2 separate regions of the Homo sapiens genome follow, and region 1 is linked to region 2. Evidence: promoter capture Hi-C in human tissues and cell types (Jung and others, 2019). All regions are on one chromosome and are shown on one strand. The core of a region is centred on a gene start or on the middle of the fragment in contact, and the rest is flanking DNA. Distances in the headings are between cores, read along the strand shown. Region 1 has its middle 230 kb from the start of TYRP1. Region 2 holds the start of PTPRD (protein tyrosine phosphatase receptor type D).

The links. The method cuts DNA at HindIII sites, captures the fragments that hold promoters and counts their contacts. A contact is called where the count stands out against the background at its distance.
Region 1: a contact is called between a fragment that was not itself captured here and the fragment with the promoter of PTPRD in region 2, in 1 of the 25 tissues and cell types used here (dorsolateral prefrontal cortex).

The regions. Positions count from the first base shown.
Region 1 is chr9:12,462,684-12,465,631 of GRCh38, forward strand. No RefSeq gene overlaps it. Among named protein-coding and RNA genes, the nearest start is that of TYRP1, 230 kb to the right of the region's middle. RefSeq lists an enhancer at 564-1,063. The HindIII fragment of the contact is 4,232 bases long and covers 1-2,948 here.
Region 2 is chr9:10,611,734-10,614,648 of GRCh38, forward strand. It overlaps PTPRD (protein tyrosine phosphatase receptor type D), which reads right to left and starts at 1,269. Exons shown (of 46, transcript NM_002839.4): 1 at 955-1,269; 2 at 665-772. It overlaps PTPRD-DT (PTPRD divergent transcript), which reads left to right and starts at 1,473. Exons shown (of 3, transcript NR_110696.1): 1 at 1,473-1,693. RefSeq lists a silencer at 1,214-1,423. The HindIII fragment of the contact is 2,966 bases long and covers 1-2,383 here.

The DNA.
Region 1 (2,948 bases), core at 109-2,608, 1.9 Mb after region 2:
AATTTATCCTGTTTGCAATCCAAAATAGTTACCAGAAATTTGCTGTTTTGTGTGTATGCGTGTGTTTACTTTTATTGTTTTTCTAAACTCTTTGGCATGATTTTCGGGGGGTGTTCAGACTGCCACAATACTAGTTAGGAGAGGACATTTTCTTTGTGCTGCCAATTTTGATCATTTAAATTTTGGTTTGTTTGGGTTGTGACTTTTTTGTTTTTGAAGTCACCAGACACTACTACTGCAGTTTTCTTTCTCTCTTTTTTTCCTCTCTCTTCTTTCTTTCTTTCTCTTTCTTTTTTCTTTCTTTCCTTCTTCCATCCTTCCTTTCCTTCTTCCATCCTTCCTTTCCCTCCTTCTTCCATCCTTCCTTTCCCTCTTTCCCTTCCTCCTTCTTTCCTTCCTCCCTCCCTCCTTCCTTCCTTCCCTCCCTCTCTCCTTCCTTCCTTCCCTCCCTCCCTCCTTCCTTCTTTCTTTCCCTCTCTCCCTCCTTCTCTCCTTTCCTCCCTCCCTCCTTCCTTCCTTTCTCCCTCCCTCCCTCTTCCCTCTCTCCCTCTCTTCTTCCTTCCTTCTTTCCTTTCTCCCTCCCTCTCTCCCTCTCTCCCTCTCTTCTTCCTTCCTTCTTTCCTTTCTCCCTCCCTCTCTCCCTCTCTCCCTCTCTTCTTCCTTCCTTCTTTCCTTCCTTCTTTCCTTTCTCCCTCCCTCTCTCCCTCTCTCCCTCCCAGTAAGAATTGTGTTAGGTAATCTTGTATTATCCCTTATCACTCACAAAACCTCTGCTCTCTAGAAAATCTTATTGAATTGGAGAAGTTCCAGTTCCTCAAGTGGGTGGGAGATTGACCACTGTAGAAACCTAATGTTATGGCAGTTGAAAAAATGATCCAAAAGCCCTCTCATCTCTGATACATTTCCCTAATCTTGATACATTTTTTAACAAGTGTTGTTTTTATTCTTTTAATTTTAAGCTTAATTCTGCTCAAAGTTTCTATGATTCAGAAAAGAGCTGCCAAGATACTGTTCCAAAGAAAATACGTTTTTGTAGCTTGTGTGGGAATACTTCCAAAAGGTAAAGTAGATTCCTCTGGAAAAGACAGTATCAAAATTCTCCAGATGCCTGGAGCTCTAAGCCCATTATTGCATTCCACGTGCTGCTAGTAGCATAACAAAGTCAATCAGTACCCTTTGGTCAATAATCCTCCCAACTATTAACAGGAAAAAACTGTGAGCTTGTAAATGAAATATCTTGAGCTAGATAAGGTGCTCATTATCATGAGAGGAGCAATTTGCATGTTAGCATGGGGGAAATATGATAGGGTTTTAAAAACCCTCTTCACTCTCACAGTCAACTAGATTGTAAAGGACGTAATCATTGCCTCTTTTCTGTAAATTGCATTTAATAATTTTGCATTTTCCCCACAACTTTCCACTAAAAGGCAGAGATAACGAATAAAGGATTTTAAAAAGTAAGCAAAGGTTTCTTTCAAGTTTAATTTTCATCAGTTTTCTATTATATACAATGCAGAGGTAGATGTTTCTTGCTTGCTGGGAGTGGTGGGGAAGCTCCTATTTAAACATAATGAAATCTCAGAGGTGGTAGATAAACTATAATTCCCAGAAAAATAAGAGACTACTGTAAAGGCTCAAGGCCAGCAAAAAAAGGTTGTGTTAAAGCCACTGAGTATAGAACAGATCTTTCATAACATGCCATCCCTCATCAAGGTAAAAAGTTGCTTATCAATTTAAAGAGATGGAGTGGAGAGACAGGGAGAGAGAGAAAGCAGCAATGGCTGCTGCTCCTATAATAAGGTGACTAATTGTATGCTATTATCTGTTTGATGGTTTAAGCAGAATAAAGTGACACTGATCTGGAAATGTGAGAATGAAGCAGAACAAGAGAGTGTTTGTAAGAGGAATAATTTCAGGCACCCATGAGGCTTCACGTAAAACTCATTTGCACATAGACAGGGCTCTCTTGTGGATGATGGATAAATGTAATTCCTAGTTACCAGTGTGTCTTTTTTTCTTTTCTCTTTATTTTTTTTTCACCGACAAGGCATTGAAGACAGAAGAATGGAATACGGACAAAAATGGCTTCAAAAATTAGAATAATTTCTAAACTAATTTAAATTTCTAAATGATTAGACAGTGACTGTGTGGACTGTTCCCTCAGGTCACTAACACAGATATTCTTAATAGTCATTCCTGCAATATTCAATAGACGTCAACAATATTGTCCAATCAAGCTAAAAAAAAATGTGAAAATGGGCTGTGAGTTTTACTCAATACTTGAAAGCTTTCAATTAAGTTTTACATAAGAGAAAACATACATGAACTTTAATCTTTTAAGCAAATTCTTACTGAAAAGGAGAAAGGGGGACAATTTTAAAACAAGAAAGATCAAAGCCAATTCAAGATGTACGAGCGCCATCTGGTGTCCATAATAAAAATGCTATCAGTTTTTAGCAGTCAAACTCCCCTTTTGTGGGCTTTGTAGTGCAAAAGGGTTATGGTACAAAGAGTAATTCTTGAAATGGGATTTACTCTATGTCTAATACCCAGATGTTACTATTTACTATTTGTTTTTAGAGTAAACTAACCTAAGGAAGTGAAGTTGGTTGAAGCAGTGGGTTTGCTGTTAACACATATGTTCAAACATTTCAGCAAAAATAATTCATGTTTCAACTAGAGAATTCACATAATTGCTGCAGTTCTCCACTCTAATTTACTTAAGCAAACCTTCCTTGATACAGGAAAAGTGTTTCTATACTTTCAGAAGCAATGCCTGTGTAAAAATATTGGAGAAGCAGATGGGTAGCATATTTTTAAGGAAGAAACTTAGAGGCTTATAATGTTAATGCACTAAGATAAAATTAGCAATATATTAAAAAAAAGAAACCTAAGTAGTGGTACTTAAGTGTCTTGGAAATTTATGCACATATCTATCAATAGAACTT
Region 2 (2,915 bases), core at 19-2,518:
CCTCTCCAAAGTATTTTTCACATTCTCTCTCCAAATTAAGTTCATTCTAATTCTCCAACTATTCTAGTTCCAGGATTTTCCTCCAATTATTATCTCCTTACAGGCATGAAGAAATCGCAACAGAATTTTCATCTGGTCTTTCAAACCATCCTTATTAACTTTCCCTTTTCCGCCCCCCCCCCCTTTTTTTTTCTAGAGCTTTTCAGAACTAAAGATAAAACAACCAACCAACTGAAGTCAGAGTAGGGTGGGAGTTAGCATGGATTAGGGCTGAGGTTGAAGGTGGCAGGAGAAGTGAGCCAGTAGGGTTAGATTTTTCAAGCTTTTTCTAGATAACCACCCTTAAATCTTAGAACCAACCAATGTTTAACAAAGCAGGCTTCCAATAGCCCTTGAACAATAAACGTTTAAAAATCAGTTTTCCAGTAAGGCTGCCCATACTGATCCCATATCGAAGTCTTCTAAGGGCTCTTCCAAAAAAAAAAAAAAAAGAAAAAAATGCTTAGCGAACCACTTCTCAAATAGGAGCTACTGAAGTTATATAAGTCAAGTTATTCCCAGGTAAAATGAATAAACTGTCCACAGCATTGGACATTGGGCATTGAAAAGCATCAGCATATGCTTCACTTTAGAGAAAAGAAAGACAGAAGCACAGTTTACTTACTAAAGCAGCCGCTCCAGTCCTCCTTGGAAACCCTGAGGAGTCTTCTCTTTTCTTTCCTACCAGTCAAATAAAGAATTGTCTTTCTATTCCACACAGGCCCAGAATAAACTGCAAAAAGGGATGGCACATGCACAGCAGCCCGTCAGGGTTTGGCTTTGGTGGGGTGCTTCGATTTCTGATTGTTTCAAAAGTGGGATCTTCTTTTCCGGAGGGAGGGGGCAAAGGAAGAAAAAGAAAGCGCGCTCGGAAAGCCGGCTTGGGTCCTGCTAATTATTCTGAAGGCAAAGTACCTGCACTCTCCCCGCCGAGGCTGGCTGGCGGCGCCGCGCCGGAGGGGAGGAGGCTCGGGAGGAGGAGGAGAAAGAGCAGCGGGAGGACTCGGGCTGGGAGGGGAGCGCAGGGTTGGGGAGGCCGATGAGCGGCTCCCGGCTCCTCGGAGAAGCAGCCGAGACGGCAAGGAGGAGGCGAGGCTCTGTCGGGGCGAGGCGCTGCCCCCACGCGCTCCGGCCGCCGGCTGCGGGCGCGGCTGGGCGGGGAGCCGAGGCGGCCGCTCCCGCACTCGCTCGCTCGCTCGCTGGCGCTCCCTCCTCGTCTCGCTCGCACTCACAGGCACACACCCCACGTCTCCAGCAGCTGCCGCTCGGCCTCACGCACTCACCTGCATTTCCTTAACGAGCCACTTGATGGCTGCCAGCGGCGTGGGCCCCGCTCCGGCGGGCGGGGGCCGGGGCGGGGAGAACGCGGCGCGGGATGCTCCGAGCGCCCGCTGGGGAGAGAAGCGGCGGCGGCGGCGGCGCTGCGGGCGCGCCAGATGGGGCGGGAGGAGGGGAGACCCGGCACCCACCGGCCCAGAGCTGCCTGACGCGGCCTGGGCGGACCCCGCCGCCCGGGTGCCTAGGCACGATTCCAGGGATCCAGGGTAAAGCGGTTCGCGCGGGAACAGGAGGATATGTCAGGCACAGGCTATTCCCCATCACTATAGCCACAGAGGACTGGTCCAGATGCGGATCCCGATCTGTGCTTCTTCAGGTGTTCGCGTGCTTTCGGTTATTATTATTATTATTATTTTCCGAGGGAGGCTGTCGGTAACACCTAAGGGGTAGTGGGTGTTAATAGCTGGGGGACGTACATTTGATTTGCAATGGAATCGATGCTTATGAAGAGCAGACTTAGGGAGGTGAAGGGCAGGGGCACAGGGGTTGCTTGGCGGAGGGGGTGTACTTCGGCTGAGCTGGATGGAGTTTTCAGTCGGGGCGCTTGGCAGTCTGGCTGGGCTTGAGGGAGGGATAGAGCTCTGCCAAGGTGGTAGCTGAGAAGGGAAAACCTGTACAAGAGTTGCTGAGAATATGCCTCGCTGCAGAGGAGAGGACATGGATGCAGGGAGCGGATTCTTCCCCACCTCCTCCTTACCCCAAGGTAGAGTGGGGTATCGGAGTGCATCAGATGTGGTGTACCACAGACTCGGGAGACAGGGGAGGAGGAACTTAGACCCCCAGCGAAACTAGAAATAAGGTTTGGAGCTGGGGGGAGAAGAAGGGGCAGGATGAGAGAAAAACAGCAGGAAGCTTTTTGTCATTTTACTATCTTTCATGTCTCATCAGAGCATACAGCTATAGGCAACAAATGCTCTGTCTCTTGATAAACAGAGAGCAATGTCACCATGTCGGTGCGTTTTCTAAAAAGCCAAAATAATTATCCTGTTTGTAATATGCAACACAGAGCATTCCAGGTACCATCTGGTCAAAGGTTCTGTAAGCACTGTAGAAGAAAACAAATAAAAAAAGAACAACGAAAAACCAGTTATCCATCTACTTTCCTTATATGTCAATGATCTAATCGCAGAAATGTCACTTTCTCCCGAAGAGAAATAAAGCTTAGTCACTATAGGTGGAATTTTCCCCAGGGTCCCTTCACCTTTTTCTTTTCATACCTTCTCCACTGCTTGCTGTGTCCCTTTGCTCTTTAAAAGGGACCCTTCTCCTGAACCCACGCGCTGCCGGGTTCCCTGCTCAGCCTCCCTAAAGCCACGGAGCCTACCCATCCAAGAAGGTTCCCATGCACAAACAGTCATCATCACTTAAAAAGGTTCTTGGAAATGACAAGATATGAACGAAAAAAAATTACACCATATGTGCAAGTGTGTGTGCATGTGTACATATTTTTGTAATTATACAAAGCACTTGCCCCTCTTACGGTGCTGTCTCCCCAAGATGATGATGACTGACTCATATTCTCTCTCTCTCCCTCCCTC